Linked DNA regions of Homo sapiens: regions 1, 3, 4, 5, 6 and 7 are each linked to region 2. Evidence: promoter capture Hi-C in 16 types of primary human blood cells and fetal thymus (Javierre and others, 2016). All regions are on one chromosome and are shown on one strand. Each heading gives the region's core, a stretch centred on a gene start or on the middle of the fragment in contact. The rest is flanking DNA. Distances are from core to core; before and after follow the strand shown. Region 1 overlaps COG7 (component of oligomeric golgi complex 7). Region 2 holds the start of IGSF6 (immunoglobulin superfamily member 6). Region 3 overlaps NDUFAB1 (NADH:ubiquinone oxidoreductase subunit AB1). Region 4 has its middle 130 kb from the start of HS3ST2. Region 5 overlaps USP31 (ubiquitin specific peptidase 31). Region 6 has its middle 60 kb from the start of HS3ST2. Region 7 overlaps HS3ST2 (heparan sulfate-glucosamine 3-sulfotransferase 2).

What was found. The method cuts DNA at HindIII sites, captures the fragments that hold promoters and counts their contacts. A CHiCAGO score of 5 or more calls a contact.
Region 1: a contact is called between a fragment that was not itself captured here and the fragment with the promoter of IGSF6 in region 2, in 1 of 17 cell types (total CD8 T cells). The highest score is 5.3, in total CD8 T cells.
Region 3: a contact is called between a fragment that was not itself captured here and the fragment with the promoter of IGSF6 in region 2, in 1 of 17 cell types (neutrophils). The highest score is 5.8, in neutrophils.
Region 4: a fragment that was not itself captured here is called in contact with the fragment with the promoter of IGSF6 in region 2 in 1 of 17 cell types (erythroblasts); the score reaches 5.5 in erythroblasts.
Region 5: a contact is called between a fragment that was not itself captured here and the fragment with the promoter of IGSF6 in region 2, in 3 of 17 cell types (total CD4 T cells, total B cells and monocytes). The highest score is 7.0, in total CD4 T cells.
Region 6: a fragment that was not itself captured here is called in contact with the fragment with the promoter of IGSF6 in region 2 in 1 of 17 cell types (erythroblasts); the score reaches 5.2 in erythroblasts.
Region 7: a fragment that was not itself captured here is called in contact with the fragment with the promoter of IGSF6 in region 2 in 1 of 17 cell types (endothelial precursors); the score reaches 5.4 in endothelial precursors.

Annotation. Positions count from the first base shown.
Region 1 is chr16:23,432,110-23,435,284 of GRCh38, reverse strand. COG7 (component of oligomeric golgi complex 7) reads left to right here. Exons shown (of 17, transcript NM_153603.4): 5 at 567-649; 6 at 1,618-1,740. Among named protein-coding and RNA genes, the nearest start is that of COG7, 19 kb to the left of the region's middle. The HindIII fragment of the contact is 941 bases long and covers 1,288-2,228 here.
Region 2 is chr16:21,651,084-21,654,026 of GRCh38, reverse strand. IGSF6 (immunoglobulin superfamily member 6) reads left to right here and starts at 1,419. Exons shown (of 6, transcript NM_005849.4): 1 at 1,419-1,495. The coding sequence starts at 1,429. The region is part of intron 4 of METTL9 (methyltransferase 9, His-X-His N1(pi)-histidine); the gene reads right to left. The HindIII fragment of the contact is 3,735 bases long and covers 1-2,423 here.
Region 3 is chr16:23,587,314-23,590,305 of GRCh38, reverse strand. It overlaps NDUFAB1 (NADH:ubiquinone oxidoreductase subunit AB1), which reads left to right. Exons shown (of 5, transcript NM_005003.3): 2 at 2,987-2,992. Among named protein-coding and RNA genes, the nearest start is that of NDUFAB1, 7.5 kb to the left of the region's middle. The HindIII fragment of the contact is 6,808 bases long and covers 1-2,992 here.
Region 4 is chr16:22,943,915-22,946,805 of GRCh38, reverse strand. No RefSeq gene overlaps it. Among named protein-coding and RNA genes, the nearest start is that of HS3ST2, 130 kb to the right of the region's middle. The HindIII fragment of the contact is 982 bases long and covers 1,143-2,124 here.
Region 5 is chr16:23,143,220-23,145,933 of GRCh38, reverse strand. The region is part of intron 1 of USP31 (ubiquitin specific peptidase 31); the gene reads left to right. Among named protein-coding and RNA genes, the nearest start is that of USP31, 4.9 kb to the left of the region's middle. The HindIII fragment of the contact is 4,574 bases long and covers 1-2,714 here.
Region 6 is chr16:22,752,614-22,755,600 of GRCh38, reverse strand. No RefSeq gene overlaps it. Among named protein-coding and RNA genes, the nearest start is that of HS3ST2, 60 kb to the left of the region's middle. The HindIII fragment of the contact is 3,804 bases long and covers 1-2,987 here.
Region 7 is chr16:22,815,211-22,818,277 of GRCh38, reverse strand. All of the region lies in intron 1 of HS3ST2 (heparan sulfate-glucosamine 3-sulfotransferase 2), which reads right to left. Among named protein-coding and RNA genes, the nearest start is that of HS3ST2, 2.6 kb to the right of the region's middle. The HindIII fragment of the contact is 1,015 bases long and covers 1,211-2,225 here.

The DNA.
Region 1 (3,175 bases), core at 509-3,008, 1.8 Mb before region 2:
ACCAATTCTCCTCCCTCAGCCTCCCAAGGAGCTGGGATTACAGGTGTGCACCACCACGCTCAGCTAATTTTTGTTTTTCTTTTAGTAGAGATGGGGTTTTGCCATGTTGGCCAGGCTGGTCTCGAACTCCTGACCTCAGGTGATCCGCCTGCCTTAGCCTCCCAAAGTGCTGGGATTACAGGCATGAGCTACCGCGACCAGCCCAAATTATTTACTTATTCCTCAAACCACCAGATATGTTGACATATAGCAGTTCAGTGTGTTTGCTTTTTTAAAGTTCCCATCTGGTATAATCGAAGTAGGAATTTTGAAAGACATAAATAACCTCTCAGTATCATGTTAAAATATGAATTCTGTGAGGAACAGTGGGGAATACCTTGCAGTATCTGGTTTTCACGTCATGCTTATTTTTCAAATTTATGATCCTCATGCATGAGTTAATTCAGTATCTAGGCAGGAACTTGTGAATACTAGCTTCCATATATCCACCTTCATCCTGGTGAGTTTTTTCTCATGTCTACACCAGAAAGGCTGGTAACAGTATATATACATTGTATGTTCTTTAGATCAGTCCAAAGTGTTTGTGAAGGTGTTTACTGAAATTGACCGGATGCCCCAGCTCCTGGCCTACTACTACAAGTGTCACAAGGTAAGAAGCTGTGCGCGATGACAGTTGTGCAGTTGTGGAATGCTCATAACTCTGGGTCACAGAATCGCAGGTTCATAATTCAGAAGGTAAGAACATTTGTCTCCTTGCCCTCTGGCTGTTTTTCTCTTAGTTAGCCAGTAGGGGGTGCTCTTGGTCTAGCATATGGATTTGTTTAATTGCCAGTTGGAAAAAGTTATCCGTTTTCATTCTCTTTTCTGTTTACAGCTGGATTCATTATAGACTTGAAACGTTGTTTTAATTTATTCTCATTTTTGTCTTTTAAGGGAGATTTATGTCTTAAGCTTTATTACACCCTCAGAAGGCAGTAAGAATTTCTCTTTTTTTCTTTAGAGATAGGGTTTCACTATTTTGCCCAGCCTGGAGTGCGGTGACTATTCACAGATCCGATCATGGTGCACTACAGCCTTGAACTCCTGGGCTCAAGTGATCCTCCCGTCTCAGCCTTGTGAGGAGTTGGGACTACAGGCGCGTGCCACTCCACCTGGCTTGGAATTTTATGTTTTCTAGGTTTGCTGAAGTTAGATTGCCAAAAAACTTGACAGCTTCCTGAACTGACCTTAATTCCTTCAAGTCCAGTGCTCTGTGTCTTTTAAGCAGTGATGTTAGGACATGAAGCTTAAACATACATGTCTGCCCGCTCTTGCCCCAACATCTATTCAGAAGAGTGATGGTGTGCCAAGTGGTTGCACATTACATGTTTTTAGGGCAGGATAAATGGAGAGGGGATCACATCCGCAGGGTGACAGATTAAAGCTGTGAATCAGTGCAGATAACTGCAAATGTTTTTTTTTTTTTCCTGCCTTTCTTTGAAGTGAATGGACCTCACTGGGCTGCCCAGTGAGCCCATTGAGCAATCCGTGATTACGCTGGGTAGCAGGGCAGGGCAGTGTTCACAGGCAACCTATGTTGACGTACCCAATAAGGTTCCCTTTGTTCTGTCTCTGCAGGTGCAGCTTTTAGCAGCCTGGCAAGAGCTGTGTCAAAGTGACCTATCCCTGGACCGGCAGCTTACCGGACTCTATGATGCCTTGCTTGGTGCTTGGCACACACAAATCCAGTGGGCTACACAGGTAACAGCTCATTTTTGTTCTAGGGAGAACAGAGTCTGTGGTGACAAGGGAACGGGTGACTGCCTCGGGAGTGGCCACCCTCAACTGCAGAGCACAGCTCAAAGAACTTCCCCGTTTGTTGCTGTCATTCAAGGGGTTAAAAAATAACCAGTTAGGCCGGGTGCGGTGGCTCACACTTGTAATCACCACACTTTGGAAGGTCGAAGTGGGCGGATCGTTTGAGCCTAGGAGTTCGAGACCAGCCTGGCCAACACGGTGAAACCCCAACTCTACAAAAAATGCAAAAGTTAGCCAGGTGTGGTGGCACAATTACTAAGGAGACCGAGGCAGGAAGATTGCTTACGTCCAGGAGGTTGAGGCCACAGTGACTATGGTCGCACCACTACACTTCAGCTTGGACAACAGAGCAAGCAAGACTGTCTCAAACAAACAAACAACAAAAGAAAAAACGATAACCAGTTAAATGGTTTAAGTTTAAAAGATAAGCTTAGAAATCCACGTCAGTGAAATCTTTAGGTCTCCACTGAAACTCTTCTTACCACTCTTATCTATAACTTAAATAGGACCTAATGTGACAATGCCGCCTGTTGTCCAGCAAGGGAGCCTGTGGAATTCCTGAAGGCCATTTTCTTCCCATCTAAAAGCAGGAGGCCCCTCGTCAGGTGGTGTTCGAATGAACAGGAATGTTTTTATCTTTACTTCAGGTAAAATTTACCTACCTGAAGTGAGTCTCCCTTGTTCTCATGATACACCAAGAAGTAGGGGAAGAGATAATTTTAAAGGTACCCCCTGACTAGGAGTGAGGAGAGACAGAGGAACTTTGTTTCAAGTGGCAACTATCCATCATTTACTTTCCTCAAGTCTCTAGGCATTTCCAGCCATAAAGGTTTTAAACCGTTGTTCTCTTGCCTTGAGACAGGAGGCACAGTAGAACCTCTTGTAAGCAGGGGAAGAGCCTGTCTTACTTTGCAGTAATGACTTACTGGGCCTGTTTCTAGTGTGGCTTATTTTATTTATTTTTTTCTTATTTATTTATTTTTTTTCTCCAAACCCTTGTGTTGAGGGCTGATTTTCAATAGCACTCAGATAGAGAGCTATTGAAATAGATTGCAGTGAGGGAGCTGCTCTGCTATGTACGAAACCCCAACCTAGAAGCAGGTCATCTACGAGTGGTTTAGTGTCACGTTCCCCATATTTTATTTTTTACTATAGTTGTGAATCACTCTTCAGATGTTCATCAGTCATTTGCTGGAATGAATTTGACTAAGGTTGGAGAGAATTCCTTATACCGGGTCATGTCATTCAAGTTGTTGGTTAAAGCACTTTTCTCCATCCTTGTTCTTTTTCCTTGAACTAACCTAATTCATTCTTAGGATTTTGTTTTGTTTTGTTTTGTTTGAGACAGAGTCTTGCTCTGTCATGCAGGCTAGAGTGC
Region 2 (2,943 bases), core at 170-2,669:
TGAGAATAACTTTCTGTTAATGAGAAAATATATCATGAGCAGATGCCAAGGGCACAGACATCATATCATGGTGGGGAGATTTTTCATAATTTTCAGTGGTGCAGATGACGCTCTTCCCATGTCTGGGGAATTGCCTGCCCAGAGTCTGGGAGAGACACAAGGCCTGGGAGCCGCTTTCCTGGCCTGCCGTGCAGCTGAGGCACTGGCACGCAGCCTAAGCCAGGCACACTTGCCCATGCCCTGGAATGGAGAGCCAGTGACCCAGAGTAGTGGGGATGTGAGCTTCTCCTTCTCTGGGGGTGGAGCAATGGCAGTGAGACCAAGGGGCTGGGGCAGTGGTTGAGCGATGCTGACAACAGGGCTGATGGCACCTAGTGTTTGGCAGTGGCAGTAGCATCCTCTTCAGACCTGTTTATGGTGTGATTTGAGGCATTCTTCCTGGCTGTGGACCCCACACAAGATTCACTAGCCCTCCCAGTGACTCTAGGATCTACCTTCAAATGTTTGCATAAATTTCCTTTTAAGTCAGCCTGAGTCTGTTTCTGCTGCTTTACAAAGAAGACCCTTACTGAATCACCACTAAGTGCTGGGGGAGAGGACACAGAGGACAGAGGGCCCACATATTTGTTTCTCAACACATTAAAAGGGGGTCTTTGGGCCAGGCATGGTGGCTCACACCTGTAATCCTAACACTTTGGGAGGCCAAGGCAGGGGGATCGCTTGAGGGCAGGACTAGCCTAGACAACACAGAATCTACAAAAAAAAAAAAAAATTAGCCAGGGGTGGTGGTGCATGCCTGTAGTCCCAGCTACTCAGGAAGCTGAGGCTGCAATGACCTGCAATCTTGCCACTGCATTCCAGCCTGGGTGATAGAGACCCTGTCAAAAAAGGGGGGAAGGCAGGTGTCTTTGGATTCAAAACTGGAGTACAAAAAGTTAATAACAGACAATTTATTTATTCGCTGCATTAGAATGTGTTGTTTACTAACTTTTCTCATCTCTACACAAAGCCACTTCTCCTTCTGCTGTTCTTTGTTCCCAGCAGTTACTGGCCCAGAGTGGCACCCAGAGCAGGTACCCTAGACAGTGACTGAACTGTTCTGAAAAATCCAAGTACGAATTATTTGTCAAACAATACTCCTTCCTGGAAATATGTGCTAGGTGTAAATCAAAATCTCACCCAGAAACATCTAACACCTATGACAACTGTAAAATCCATGGAAAAAAAAAAGATATGCACATTTCTAAATGTGCTCCAGGCCAAAATCTCAATGTTAAATGGTGAAGCCATCCTTGCACAATTTCAAAAAGTTCCTGATTATGGTTCCTTCATAAGAGGTTCCTCTCTTCAGCTCTTCTTCCCTTCTGAAAAAAGAAAGCCAACTTTCCTTTCAAATACACACCCCAACCCGCCCCGGCATACACAGAAATGGGGACTGCGAGCAGAAGCAACATCGCTCGCCATCTGCAAACCAATCTCATTCTATTTTGTGTCGGTAAGGTTCTTTTTCTTCTCCTCCTTCATTTTATTTAAATCAACTGCTATTTTTCACCTAATGCATTTATATTTTAAGCTCCTTCAGATTAATTTTTAAATGTATAACATTATGAAAACTGCCTAAGAGGATAAGTTTCCTTTTTCCCCTGAGAAATAGACAATAAAAAAATAGCTGAGAAAAAGTTTCATATTAACCTTGAAAAGTCTCTTTGCTATTATGCTAATTGGAGACAATCTGACCAAAGGGTTGAAAATATTCTTAAAATCGTAGGTATAAGTTATCAATAATTTAATTATCATACAAACTTGATCTGCACATAGAAAGCAATAAATGATTATTTGCTGAATATTTTCAAAGAACAATTTCTATAAAAGTACTTTTCATTTAAGAAAAAAAAAACTGCCATGACTCCAATAGCCATCCCATAGTATATCTATTTTTAAAATTCTGTCTACTTCTGTTTTTTTATCTATGAAAGAGAAAGGATTTCCAATACATCTAGTAATCTCAGATTTGCCCACACAATTTGGATTATAGGGCAGGGAAGGGGGGAAAGTTCTTAATTTTTTCTCATCTGTGAAGAAATATATCAAAATGTTAATGGGAGTTATTTCAGGCAAAAGGACTATGGGTGACTTTTTGCTTCTACTTTTAATAACCTGTTTTTTGCTAATAAGTATATATTACTTTCATAGACTATTTTAATTAGCATTATTTTAAAGAAGAATTCCTGTCTTTTAGAGATATATTCTGAAAGATGCAGATAAAATGGCTGGGATTTGCTCTAAAATAATATGGGAGTGAGGGAGTAGGTGGGAGGAGAAAAGAAACAAGATTGGGTCGAAGCCATGTGATGGCAGGGGGTTGACTGTACTACTTCGCTACTTTGATATGTTAGAAATTTGAAATCTAATATAATAAAGCTTTGGGCTGGGCGTGGTGGTTCATGCCTGTAATCCCAGCACTTTGGGGGCCAAGGTGAGAGGATCACTTGAGCTCAGGAGTTCAAGACCAGCATGAACAACATAATGAGACCCCCATTTCTACACAAGAAAAAAAAATAGCTGGGCGTGATGGCACCTGCACTGCACCTGCAGTCCCACCCACCTGGGAGGCTGAGGCAGGAGGATCACTTGAGCCCAGGACTTTCAGGCTATAGGGAGCTGTGATTGTGCCACTGCACTCCAGCCTGGGCAACAGAGCAAGACATTTACTTACTTCTTACTTACTAGATAGAGAGACAGCTTTGTTTAAATGTCAAGAATTAGTTCTCTTCCTACTTTCAATATGGCTTTTTTGTTTGTTTGAGACGGAGTCTCGCTCTGTCACCCAGGCTGGAGTGCAGTGGCAAGATCTCGGCTCACTGCAAGCTCCGCCTCCCGGGTTCACGCCATTCTCCTGCCTCAGCCTCCCGAGTAGCTGGGACTACAGGCATCTGCCACCAC
Region 3 (2,992 bases), core at 488-2,987, 1.9 Mb before region 2:
GTCTGAGCTCTTGCCCACTAACTTACTGCCTCACGCTGATCCTGATGCAGCACCCACTCTAGATTGGCATGTGGCCTCCAGTCAGAGACTCGTTTAATTTAATCACATGGTGCCCACCTGGCCCTTGTAGGTACTTGCTGGAGCTGCTGAGGACAATGCTGACAACCTAGTTGGCCTCATGGGTAGTTGTGTACGAACATAGAATATACCCTCACCAGGGGTCTTGCTTTGTTGCCCAGGTTGGTCTGGAACTCCTGGGCTCAAGCGATCCTTCCACTTTGGCCTCCCAAAGTGTTGGGATTACAGGCGTGAGCCACCACACCTGGCATCGTACCATTTCTTTTTTTTTTTTTTTTTTTTTTTCTTTTTGGAGACAGAGTCTCACCCTGCCGCCCAGGCTGGAGTGTAGAGCCATGATCTCAGTTCACTGCAACCTCTGCCTCCTAGGTTCAAGTGATCCTCCCACTTCAGCCTCCTGATTAGCTGGGATTATAGGCACACGCCACGATGCCCGGCTAATTTTTGGACTTTCAGTAGAGATGGAGGTTTCACTGTGTTGGGCAGGCTGGTCTTAAACTCCTGACCTCAAGAGATCCGCCCACCTTGGCCTCCCAAAGTGCTGGGATTACAGGCGTGAGCCACCACACCTGGCCTCGTACCATTTCTTGATAAGCACACAGCCTCTGTTAGATCCCTCCAACTGAAATTTCTTTTCTGCCATTGCCATATTACCTCATTTCTTCTCCCCCTTTCTCTTTATTCCTTTCTTCTCCATTTTATTTGTGACTTGGAAACCTATTTGAGTCATTGTTAAGTAGGCCGGTCATGTGCCTGTATAAAAGGTCTCCTTAACCCATGTATAATACGAAAGGAGACTAGACATTTAGACAAAGAAACATGCTCTAAAACTCTTGAAAGTACTCAGAAAGGCTCGTTAGAATATCTATCATACTCTCCAACTCATCTCTTTAGTTTGCTGATTAAACCTGATTTTTTTTTTTTTTTTCTTGAGACGGAATCTCACTCTGTCACCCATGCTGGAGTGTAAATGGCATGATCTTGGCTCACTGCAACCTCCGACTCCCAAGTTCAAGCGATTCTTCTGCTTCAGCCTCCTGAGTAGATGGGATTACAGGCACATGTTACCACGCCCAGCTAACTTATATTTTTGGTAGAGACGGGGTTTCTCCATGTTGGTCAGGCTAGTGTCGAACTCCTGACCTCGTGATCCGCCTGCTTCGGCTTCCCAAAGTGTGGCAATTACAGGTGTGAGCCACTGCGCCCAGCCTAAACCTGATTTTAATAACTGACTTCTTTTTCTTTTCTTTTTTGAGACAGAGTCTCGCTCTGTGGCCCAAGGTGGAGTGCAGTGGCACAGTCTCGGCTCACTGCAACCTCTGTCTGGGTTCAAGCAATTCTCATGCCTCAGCTACCTGAATAGCTGGGATTACAGGCACACACCACCACGCCCAGCTAATTTTTGTATTTTTAGTAGAGACGAGGCTTCACCATGTTGGCCAGGCTGGTCTCGAACTCCTGGCCTCAAGTGATTGGCTCACCTCGGCCTCCCAAAGTGCTGGGATTACAGGTGTGAGACACACATCGGCCCAATACCTGTTCTTTATGCAAGATGAATGTTTCTTCTACAGAGGTTATACTGGTTTGGTTCTCTGGGCAGTATTTATTATGATTTTTCATGGACCTTTGTGAGTTTCAGGGACCTGAGCCCTAACAAGCAGCCCCACTTTCTATAGGGAAATGCCTGAAGAACGCCAAGCCTCGGACTTAAAATCAACTTCAGGAGGTAAACAAACCAATTTAGATTAGGGATTTCTTTCTTTTTCTTTTTTTTGAGACGGAGTCTTGCTTTGTCGCCCAGGCTGGAATGCAATGGCGCAGGCTCGGCTCACTGCAACCTCTCCTCCCACATTCAAGCGATTCTCCTTCCTCAGTCTCCTGAGTAGCTGGGATTACAGGCGCCCACCACCACGCCTGGCTAATTTTTGTATTTTTAGTAGAGACGGGGTTTCACCATGTTGGCCAGGCTGGTCTCGAACTCCTGACCTCAGGTGATCTGCTCACCGTGGCCTCCCAAAGTGTTGTGATTATAGGCGTGAGCCACCACGACTAGCCAGATTAGGGATTTCAGTAGTGAGCAAAACTGCCAGATACCCTGTTTTGTTTTCTCTGATTCTGCGTCGTACCTTCCACAGCATTAAACCCCCTGACCTGTAATTGCAGCTCATTCCACATTTGTTGAATGAAATCTGGTCAATACCCTAATACCTAAACATTGAGCCGACTAATACCAGAGATACGTGAGGTATTGCTCTAACATGGCACAGGCCAGAAGGGCTCATGGTTTGGCTGGTGGCCATGAGGCAAGCCTCGCTGGAAGGGAAACAGATTGGAATGTAGTGACTGTAAGCTCCCTCATCCCCTCTTTGGGTGGGAGGCCAGCTTCCTTTGTCCTGGCTGAGATCAGGGAGATAACTGCTGGAACCAAACTAGACCTTTCTGGTGTATGGTCCTCAATTTGAATTGCCTTTGGGTTTACCATGACAGCTCTTTCCTTTTGGGTTATTTTGACTTGGGTCAGCCTATTAAAGGTGGCAGCACCCTGTAGAGGCCTCGGGATGCTGAAGATGCCATGAGAAGACACAGGCATTCTGCAGACGCTAGACAATTTTAGTGGCAGTTAGTGTCGCAGAGCAGTATGAATGTCCAGAGCCTGAGGGTTGAAGCCAGGAGGCAGAGGGGCCGGTCCTGACTCCCAGGAAGGAGGCCTGAGATGCTGCTGAACTGTTGGGGCTTCTGCGATTACCCAGTCCTGCAACTTAGTGTGTCCTGGTGGCCACAATGAGAATCAGATGCTGTGGGTTCTCTAAAGCCCCGAAAGTTCTGTGAAAGTTACCTATAGGCTTGTGCATTGATTTAGAGGTATTTTCCATTCAATGACAGTGTTTCCTTCCTGCCGTCGCTCTAGGTTCCT
Region 4 (2,891 bases), core at 384-2,883, 1.3 Mb before region 2:
GTCCATTAAACCTCTTTTTCTTTATAAATTACCCAGTCTCAGATATGTGTCTATCAGCAGCATGAAACCTAACTAATACAGATACAGTGGAGTTCACAGAGCTGTGACCATGCATCATTGTTTTGTTAGGATTAGGTTCTGCTGCATAAGCAGAATCTACTCTGCTTGATGCCACATCCTGACTTCATTCCTTCCCTTCCCAGTCCTACTTTCTACTCCCCTGCAGGCTTTTCCTAAGAGCATGCCTAGTAAATTACCTTCAGATGAATCATTATTTTGAGGCTCCTAGGGAACCCAATCTAAGAACCACCAACACTCATGGACATTAGGATCGATCAGATTCTAAGCCAGTTCAACCAATCACAACTCAGCACCTCATCCTTGCTGGTCACATTCACATTATCAATAAAAGTTAATATTTGTGCCAGACACCGTACTAACTGCTTGATATATATTAATTCATTTGATCCCTACAGTAACTCTGTGAAGTAGGTAGTCTTATTATCCACATTTCCAGATGAAGAACTGAGAACCAGAGAAGTCAAGTAACTTGTTCAAGGTCCCGCAGGTAATAAGTGGCATGGCCTGAATTCAAACCTAGGCAATTTGGGTTTTTGAGTTTGGGTCTTAACAGCATGCTCTGTAGCTAGTCACTGCAATGCACCCAATAGAACTCAGTAACTAAATAGTAAGAATTGTTAATGTGAGCAACAGAGACCAATTGGGAAGTGAATTACCCATGGCTAATATAATAATTTGGTTGGAAAAGCAACCAAAGTGTCTATAAGAAAGAAATTTTGAATAAAGCTGTGGGCAAAAAAATAAAATAAAATAAAATAAAATAGAGCAATTTTGAAAAAAAAAAAAAAAAACAGCAAGTTTGTGTATCATGGTTTTCCTGGGGGTTTTGCTGGGGTTACCTCTGACCTCTGGACATCCTGCACATATTAACACCACACACACACACACACACACACACACACACACACACACACACACGTGGAGATGTTGTCTTTACAAAGCTAAAGAAGCCCATGCTATTCTCATGAGGCCTCTGTTGTCTGAATTCCTGCTCACAGAAGCTGGGGCCATCTTATCTGGGTGATAGCCAAGAAAGATGGTGTTGGGGGTTACTTGAAGCTTGAGCTAGGATGAGGGAGACAGGCACAGAGATGTGGACTGGAATGTCCCAGATAGCTTCTCTCATCACATGTGTGGGGGTTGTGCTGAGATGGCTGAAACAGCTGGGTGCCAGCCAGCACCTCTCTTTCTCTTACTCACTTTCTTTTCACGTGGCCTTTTTTGTGACTGGCTTCAGCTTCCTCACAATATGGTAATTTCAGAGTAATCTGACTTCTCACATGGGGAAAGCATCCCCTCAAGAGTGCAAGCAGAGGCTGTCTGGCCTCTCTTAAAGGCCTAAAAAGGGCACAGCATCTCTTCTGACAAATTTCTTTGATCCAATCAATCATAGATTTGATCATAGGTTCCAGGGAAGGGAAAAGGATCTCCCCTCTCAACCAAAAGAATGGCCAAAAAGAATGTTTGGCCATCTTTACCCTGCCACAGACTGTGGTTTAAGCAAGATAGACACAAAGTTTTATTGTTATTAAGATGTTGAGATTGTTTGTTACAGCAACTGGCTTATGCTGACTAATGCACCTTGTCATCACTGCATGTATAGAGGGTTATTCTCATCTTCCCTCAGAAAGGGTCATCTAGTAAATGAAGCAAAACTGAGAGAGAATGGAAGACACTGTCCAGGGACTATTCAATCTCTGTTTCTTCTCAAGACCTCAATTCCTGATCTTCTTCCACCTCCTTTTGCATTGAAGAAAAATAAGTTCAAGTAAGAGATGTATGAACTCTCATATTTGGTTCACAGAACAGTTTTCACCAGGGAAGTTGAGCTAGTAGTCAAAGTGATTAAAGCCATTTGGAGGTAATGAGCTCACCATCGCTGGGAAGAATTTGTGCAGAGGCTGGTGTCATTGGGATGCTGGAGTTGAAATCCAACCACTATCCCTTCCACTACCGAGGCTGCTTTTCCTCAAACCCAAAGAGATCCCAGTTTGGTGGAAGTCTTTTCCAGCCCATGAGACCACCTGGGTAGAAATCTAAGCTTTAGATTGTCATGAGCAGGCAACCAGAGCGTGTAAACATACATCTTTCTGGAAAGTTCCAAGCCAGGTAATAAGAAACTGGTCCTTGGCATTTAATAGAAAATAAAGGATTTCAGAAGTTTCTTAGAGCAAAGACTAGAGACTGATAATAATAAAGATGTGTGAGTGTGAAATAGATGAGACCTTGACCTCTACTTTGCCTGGGTGTGGGAAGGGGTCTTTTGTAATCTACTGTGGATTTCTCTAGAATAGGGACAATGTCTTAAATATGCTTGGTTCCTTTCTTTCCCTCCTCCTCAACATCCTGTGCTTCAGCATGACCTGCCGCCTCCAACTCCAAAATACATACTGAATGTGTCCCTTTCTCTCCATCTCTGCTGCCCACACCCTGATCCAAGCCACTATCATTTCCTGCCTGCACCACTGCCCCAGCCTCCCAGATGGCCTTGGTCGCATGCTCATCTCTCCCCCTACAATCCATTTTGCACACTGAACTTGAGAGATCTTTCTGAAACAAATCATGTTACTCTTCTGATTAAAACTCTCTCATGGTTTCTCATGGCACTTAGAAGAGAGTCAGAATTCCTGCAATGACTAGAGGCTCTACAGATTCCAGCCCTTTCATGTCTCATTGACCTCATCTCCTATCCTCTTGTCCTCAGGACTTGCCACTCAGCCATACGGGCTTCCTTTCAGTTATTCATTCACCCAGTGCGATCCCACTTGCTACTCTCTCTGCCCGAAATGTTATTCCCTTCCCATCTTCTT
Region 5 (2,714 bases), core at 143-2,642, 1.5 Mb before region 2:
TCCTGAACCTTTAGTAGGTTTCACTCTACATTCATTCATTCACCTCCCATTTATTGAAGGCTTACTTAATCAGTTAGGAATGCCTTCAGCCCAAGAAAGGAAAATCCCTAATGATAGTGCCTTAAGCAATGAAAACGTTGCAATTGGCAATTGGCACACACAGTGATTCCGGAGGTGGATGGTTCTATGGTTCAGTGGCTCGTTGGGCCCAACAAGGATTCAGACCATTTCTGTATTTCCACCTGTTGTCTTTTTAGCTATCATTGGCTTTTTGTTCTTAGGTTTGTCACCTCATGGTTGTCCAGTGATGGCAGCCACTGCACCTGGCATTCTACCCAGGACGGCAGGAAGTCATTAGGGAAATAAAAATTCTTCCAGAAGCCCCCTCAGCAGGCTTCTGCTGATATTTCATTGGCTATAACCATGTCAATTGGCTGTCACGGAGGCTGGAGGGTGGGCATTTGGGTTTTCCTGTCTTCACAGAGGAGATGAGTAAAGGAGGGGTTTACCTCCCAGGGAGCTATGAAGAGCTGAGTCGAGTAGGATCTAGGAAGTTCCCTGAGACAGCGCTTCTCATGCGTCAGTGTGCACATAATTCACCTGGGGATCTTGCTACAAAGGAAATTGAGATTCGGTAGAGCTGGAGCGGTGCCCAAGATTCTGCATTTCTAACAAGCTCCCTGGTGATGCCAGTGCTTTTGGCTCAAGGACCATCCTGTGTATAGCAGGCATCAAGGAACAAGGAAAGCATTACCAAAAAGGTGGCTCCTGAGCAGTGTTCTGAAAGATGAATAGAAATTTGCAGGGCAAGGAAGTGGTGGAGTTGCATGAAAGGGCGTGTGGTTTTGGGGAATAGACATTTAGTGGCTGGCTGCACCATAGAGAGCAGTGGGGGTGCAGGAAGCCTGGGAGAAGAGTGTTGGAAACTCACTGTGAAGGGCTTCGTGAGCTATGCTGGTTTGGATTTCATCCTCTGCAAGTTGAAAATCCAGAGGTGATTTTTAAGCAAGGAAGTGATATAATTAGATTCTTTTCCCCTTTTTATTCCCCCGGTTAGGTAACTCTGGCAAATTGATTACTTTTTAAAAAAAGGTTTTATTTTAGCTAAATTTGATGGGTATTATTTTGAATATAAAGAAAGTTGAATGCTAAGGCAGGACGCAGTGGCTCATGTCTGTAATCCCGGCACTTTGGGAGGCCAAGGTGGGTGGATCACTTGAGACCAATAGTTCCAGACCAGCCTGGACAACATGGTGAAACCCCATCTCTACTAAAAAAATACAAAAAGTAGCCGAGCGTGGTGGCACACACCTGTAATCCCAGCTACTCGGGAGGCTGAGGCACGAGAATCTCTTGAACCCAGGAGGTGGAGGTTGCAGTGAGCAGAGATCATGTCACTGCGCTCCAGCCTGGGTGACAGAGTGAGACTCTGCCTCAAAAAAAGGAAAAAAAAAAAAGAAAGGTAAACACCAGAAGGTGGACCTGAGGCATACCTCACTGTGCTTCGCCTGCTTGGGGTGGACATCGTTATTTCATTCAGATATTCTTCACTTTCACATCGCTCACATTCAGCCTTAGAATCCTGCTCAGTTCTAGAAGGGCTCCAGGCAGCCACCACCACCTAGTTGAAGTTGGCAGAGGAGATAAAACCAATTTGCCATCTTGAGATAGTTACCTTGAGGTTAGAAAAGCACTTACTATGTCTTTGTGCTTTTATTATCTTAAAACTTTAAGTTACTAATGCTTTTCTTTGTAAGTTTTTCAATTAGAGTTCTTTCTTCCTTTTTAACCACATTGATTTGAGTTTTAGGAGCTTGCCAAGTAGATGGTTTTTGGTTTTGGATGGGCTAGATGGTTGTTAAAGTTGGGTTTTCATTTCCCAGGATGAAATGAGTTGACTAGCTCAACCTTGATATGCTGTAAAAAATGTCTCTAGCCATTACCTTTATCCTTTCTCTTTTCACACAGATTTTTTGTTTGTTTGTTTCCTACTCTTAGAGCACTGGTTTTCAACACGGGCACTTTTGCCTGTCCTCACCCCACCCTGCCCCCACCCCCTGGGACATTTGTCGATGTCTGGAACCCTACTTGGTTGTCACAGCTGGGATCAGGGTGCTACTGGCATGTGGTGGTAGATTCCAGGGATGCTGCTAAATGTCACACAATGTGCAGGACAGCCCCCCTTACTAAAGGGTTTTCACCCCAAAGTGTCAGTAGTGCTGAGGCTGAGAAACTGTTTGGAGGAAAGTTTGGAGACTCAGCGCAAGTTTCCTTTTACTTCCCCAGCCTTTAAAATGGTTACCTTGTTATCTCTCGCGCTCTCTCTTTCTCTCTCTCTCCCCCCCCCCAACCTCTCCCTCTCTCTTTCTCCTTCTCTGTCTCTGAGTGTGTATATGTGTTTGCAGCAGCACTAGGGTAAAACTTGGGCTTCACTGGCAGGACCCTTGCATCACTTTCCTAGTAAAATAGTGAGAGTAAATAAATCACTTTGAATACATAATATGCCATTTTAAAGGGAATCAGCTTATTGCTTTCATAGGAGCATGGGTGCCCCAGATTCTTACAAATGCTTTCTGAGTTTTAGAGCTCAGAGCCGTTTTGCAGCAAGTAAAAAGATGGATGGTCATCTTTCAAGCAAGAAAGATAAATTTTATGGCAGCAGTTTTTAAATTGTGCTGGCAAAGAACAGCTAGCACAGAGTGATCTATTGATAA
Region 6 (2,987 bases), core at 155-2,654, 1.1 Mb before region 2:
ATTTGAACCCAAGCCATCTGATTCCAGTTGCCACACTCCTGACCACCATAACTTGTATAAACTTTCTGTGGCCGTCGGTCAGACCTAGGAAGTGCATCCTTATTTTTGTAGTCTCAGGCTGGTGGTTGAGATGAACACAAGGACATCTGGGCTCTATTTGCAGCCCACATCTCCTTACTGATAGTACTCTAACATCATCAGAGAAAAACCAGAGTGTAGTTACAGGAATTAGGATTGATGCTAGACAGACAAAAATGGCGGATGTCCTCTTCAGTATTTCTCACCTCTATAGGTCTCTGGACATCACCAAAGCATTGCACTGGGAAGAGCCCATTGCCTCCACCTCTGTGTGCCTGATCTATTACTTTTCAGCCCCAGAAAAGAAGCAAGGATAGAATTTACAGAAGCGTCACTCTCTAGGACTGCCATACTCCCTGTTATCAAAGTTGCCTTGCAGGCAACAGATCATTTTTGTATTAGAGTGATGGGAATGACACTCTGATGTCTGGTAGCTTAACCTCTGAAGTGGCCCCAAGCAATCAGTTCTGGAAAATTAGCAAACATTCTGTATTAGTTCAGGCTGCCACTACAAAATACCCTAGACTGGGTGGCTTAAACAATAAAAATGTATTTTCTCACAGTTCTGGGGGCTGAAGGTCTGAGGTTAGAGTGCCAGCATGGTCAGGAATGAGAGAAAGAGAACATTAATGTGAATGCTCTGATGTCTCTTCTTATAAGAACACGAATTCCATTGCATGACCTCATCTAAACCTAATTGCTTCTCAAAGACCCCGTCTCCAAATACCATCCCACTGGGGATCAGGGCATCAACATATTTTGGGTAGGCACAATTCAGATCATAGCACACTCCCAAACTAAATAGAAAATCATTCCTAAAACCCAAACAAGGATCTGTATGGCAGAATCATGCCAGCTGATAGAAAAAAAGCTAAGACAGTAACTTCCTGGCTCAGCAAGAAGGCAGTAGTAAATGGCCCCAACAGCTACCAGGTGCCGGGAACGATCTGAAATGTTTTACATGCATCACCTTAAATTAGCATGGTGTCGTTGGTACCATTACATGCCCATTTTACAGAAGAGGAAAGTGGGGTCACAGAGAGGTGGGGTGAACTTGCCCAAGCTCATATGGTTAGTCAGTGGCACCAGGATTTGACGCAGGTAGTCTGACTCTAGAGCCCCACACTTCACTTTATTTGGCTGTCTTTCCACTAACCTCCCTTGGGGAAAGGCTAACCTGATCCTTTCTCAGAACACTGACACATTGAGAGGTGTACCAAAGCATAGAGTCACTCTCCCTGGATTCAAAACCTAGCCCTACTATTTCCTAACTGTGTCTTCTTGGGTAAGTTTCTTAACCCAGCTATGCCTGAGTTTCCTTACCTGTTAAATGATGATAACCAATAGCTTCTACATAATAGGGTCATTGTGAAGGTTTAATGAAATAATAGACAGAAGCTCTTAGTCCTGCACATAGCACGTAATAAGTGCTCAAAACAATTAACTTGAAATATTGTGATTATGCCTTCAGGGAGCCTCTCTGCAACCATTTGAAAAAGTGCCTGGTCACATGTTCCACCATTCCCTGTCTAATGGGAAGTCACATCAGCAAAGCCACTGGAACTGCAAAGCCACTAGGCTCTGTGCTTGGCACCGTGTAGGTGCTCAGTAAACATTTGTTAAATGAATGAATGGATAATCCAAATAACCTCCAGCTCCAATGATAAAGTCCTCTTTCACCCTCCTGGAATGCACATTGATTTGTTCTGGATTTCTTGATAATTAATCTCTTGATGAAATTTAAGACCTGTTAATTACCCCTGATTAATTAGGGTGAACTTTTTAATTGCTTCCCTAAGCTGAAATACACTGTCAATAGGCTCCATAATTAGTGACCCAGTAATCAGTTTTAAACCAATTATCCCAGGGTAACAAGTGAAACTAGGCAAGAAGTGCCCCAGGGGCTTGGGCCAATTTCAGTGGAACTTAGAATAATACAAATTGGCACTTATGTGGGTGAAGAATGCATGTTCAGTGTAATTGGAAATACAGATACTCGGATTCTCTTGGGTATTTCATTTGTCTGGCTTTTCACTGCTGTGTTATTTGAAAACAATAACGTAAGTGTACCTTCCACACACCCAGTGAACAGCCTGGAGCAGATTTTTGGGGCTTCCTGACTGCCTTTGGGCACAATAAGGGCCAGCACATTAGGCTGTGCAGGTTGTGTACTGCATAATTCCAGGGACACCATTCACACTACAGTCTTTGTGAATGGCACCCCCAAAGGTTGTACAGTATACAACCTGGTTGCAATAACCCGTTGTTCACGTGATGCAAAGAATAGGGACTCAGTCATCAAGAATTCCTCCAAAGACAGTGATGGGCTCGGAGGCAAGCTGGGCTTTCCCAGGATGGGAAAATGTAAGTGCCAGGCACTTTTCATGGTCTGTCTAGAACTGTGGAGTTGTATCACATGCACATTTAATTTCTGCAAATCCAACCACTTTGATTTGGGGAAAAAAATTAAGAAAAAGAAATAATAACTTAAATAATACAGGCAATTCTGCCTGCCACTTCATTCAATATGTGCAGACCCCATAGTGAGCCTGAAATGGGGCTTCAAATCTGCTATTGTTTGTGTGCCTCCTACAAACAGAATACCACACCATATGGAGTATTTAAAGAATGGTGCTTTTTTTTTCAGCTTTATTAACTTTTTAAAACAGCAGGACCTCTAATCTAGCCATTCATTTGGTGTCCAACTGAAGAAACAGATTTCTTCTTATAGTGGAGAGAAAATGACTGGGCTGGTCTTTTTAAAATTGATAGAACAACCTCCAACATGGTACCTTCCTAAGTGATTTTCAAGAGTAATTTTGACATTGTAAGTGGGGTTTTTTTTCTTTTTCTTCCTACTTGAGATGTTTTTTCTCTTCTGCTTACCTGAGTCCCTAAGGTGAAGCAGA
Region 7 (3,067 bases), core at 469-2,968, 1.2 Mb before region 2:
ACCACCTCTGGTCTTCTGACTGTGGTTCCCTGTCCTGGTTCCCTCATCAGCCTGGTGTTGCTTTGCCCACCTGTCCAAGCAGCTAGGAGATACCACCCTGCAGCTCTTACCTCGGGGAGGAAATGTGGGTGGGGGAGAACCCAGGCCAGACACATAGTTGAGGTAAGCATCAGAGATGGCATGGCAGAAAGACAGCAAATTGGAGAGAACCCACTGCAGAAGGCTGGGCTCTCTGGTAGTGGCCTGAACGGGAGTGGTTCCCAAGAAGGATCAGGCTAAGGACAAGAAGGTGCAGACTCTGTCTCCTGGTCTCTCCAAATGATGGTGTCTTTCTGGCTATATCACTCGGCCTTCAGCTTTATCTCCATTTACCCACAGAAAGAAGCCCCTCCTTTGGGTTAAGGGTAAAGCTTTTGATTTTTCCACTATCTGGATTTCAGCCTCCTGATCAGGAAGTTATCACCAGGGGCTTTGATGTGGGCAGATCATACTAAGATCCACACTGCCTGCAACTCTGCACCTCCCCCTTTGGAAAGCACAGTCCACTCCAATGGGTGCAAGGGTTCTTTGGCTATGTCTGCCCAGTGGACCCTGGCTTTATGATGGCAAGCTGTGAACTGACAAGGCAGTGGACAGAGAGCGGAACATCCTGTCACCCACCGTACCTAGCTCATGGGATTCAGGAAGAAAGTAAGAACATGGGTTTTAAAAGATTCCAGAAATCCCCATGATTTCTGCAGTTAATGTGTATGACTTGGTCATAATAAAAAGAAATGTACAAAAATGTTCTTTACATACAGAAAGATGTTCTGGAGGTTATGGAAACAGCATCTAAGTGGGGTAGTATTACCCTGCACAGAAATGGCAATCCACAAGCTAAACACTTGACTCTAGGGGTGTGGATTTGTAACTGAAAGAAGCACAAACCACACAGCCTTTTCCTGACACTGGAGCCTCCCAGCCTTCCTGGTCAAGCAATGGGGAGAGGGCAATTACGACCAGACCTCTAGGATAGTCTTTTAGAAATATAAAGTGGGGAAAGGTGGTAGAGGGGGAGAGAAGAGAGAAGCAGAGCTGTCAGCATGCTTGATGTTAAATAAAACCTACCAAGACTCAGCTGAGAATTTTAGCAGAATCCAAATGTGCTAAAAAAAAATAAATAAATAAAAAATAAGACATGGCTTCCCTCTCTAAGGTTCACAGCTAAGCTTGCTTAGAATCACACATGCCAAGGTTAAAAATAAAAAGCAGCCATCCCTGAATGACATGGGCTCCAGGATGGAAGCCTGAGGTATGCTGTTTAGTGGTGGAAGGAAGAGAGGGGAGGGAGGAGAGTCTGGGTTCAGGGCATAGGTATTTATTGGAGGGCACACTATCTGAAAGCCAGATGCTCAGAATTTTGCTGTTTTGCACTTAAAAGGCACTTCGCATTGGCAAAAGGTGTCATAATGATCTTCAGATTTTCCATCGAGGAAATGCTGGCCTGCATTCGAATGTGGTCATGGCTGACCCACTCTGGGCTCTGCTGTTCAATGTGTTTGCCTCCTCCATCCCGGGATCTGACTCAGACAGTGTCCACATGCACCTAGACGGGATGCCCATGAGTCACAGCTTGGAAAGCACAGTGGGCTATTGGCATTGGCATGAAGCCAGATCTGCCACTCTGTGCCACCCTACCCTATTAACCAGACATAATGGTGCTGGGGCCACCCACAGGCTAGCTAGCCCCTGGTTGGCTGCAATGGGGACAGACTATGTGTCTGCCTGCTAAGGATGATGCATGACCCACTCGTCCCCACAACTACAACCATTGCGAGCCAGGAGTAACCTGCAAAGGTGCTAAATCAGGCCTGCGGTCCCCCTACTTTTGGTAAATCCAGGGCCCTCTATTATAAGCCCAGTGGGGTCCTCTTTCTAACAAAGTTGTCCCTTGTCCAATATGCATATGACCTCTACTGCCTAAAGCTGTAGATAAAAACAGCAGATTTAGCCTCAGCTACTCTGTCAGCTACCATGTTACCCCTCCCCAACGTCATTACTATGCAGATGTTTCTAGAAAGTCTTCAAAGGGTCAGGTGAATTGTGAGAATTCTGTGACCTATGTGTTAACAGGGAGCCGGGACATTACACCACCCACATGTGGGCCAGTCCTACACTTCAGCACCATACAGGGCTAGGGAGGCAGAAAGGCATTGAGGCGTGGACGCTGCCACCTCACAGAAGCTTTGGTCTGTGCCTTGACTCCCCCAGTGGGGATAATTCTCCTCCCTGGCATGCATGGGAAGCATAGACAGTCTATGCATGACTGGCTGCCCCTAGCACCCTTGCTAGCCTTCACCCGCAGGGCCCACCTTCAAATTCCACATTTTGGCTGCTGGTTTAGAAGCATCACTTAAAGTGAAGTGCCTTTTTTACACCTTTAAGGCACTTCAGAAAAGCCTTGGAAGGTATACAGGGCAAGGGCTGTTTTCCTGCCCATTGGGATGGATGAGAAAATAGAGGCTGATAGAGTTTAAGAAACTTGCTCAAGCTTAAGTGACAGACCCAAGACTCGAATCCAGGGCTCTTTCCACTACTCAAAGACCACCTACCAGGGCCAGAGCTACTGGGGGTCTCAGCCCCAGTACAGCAGCAAATACCTGGGTTTGAGATTGAGACTCCCTAAGGCATCTTTCTTACTGGAGACCTCTGGCGATGCACTGTCATTTGGCCTGAACTCTGGGGACCTTTCCCAAACAGAGCCTTGCTGCAAGGGGTCTCTGAACTGCCTTATCTTTCTCAGGGTCCTTCAGGGGCTGGGTACCAGCAAAGACCTACAGAGGGTTAGGATGGTGCCGTGTTCAGGCAGCACAGGTCCTCGCCTGTCCCTTCCTTGGGCACCCTAAGGGCTGGTCACAGAGGGAGTTAGCCCTTTAGCTGGCACTTAGGTTTGACTGGAGATAATCCTTTTCCAACGACTCCAGTGACGAGGGAACGCCCTTTGCAGTTCCAGAAACTGCCCGTCTAGATTATCACTGGGAAGTTCTGGGTAAATTCTGCTATAGCCCCCCATGGCCCTGTGTGTCAG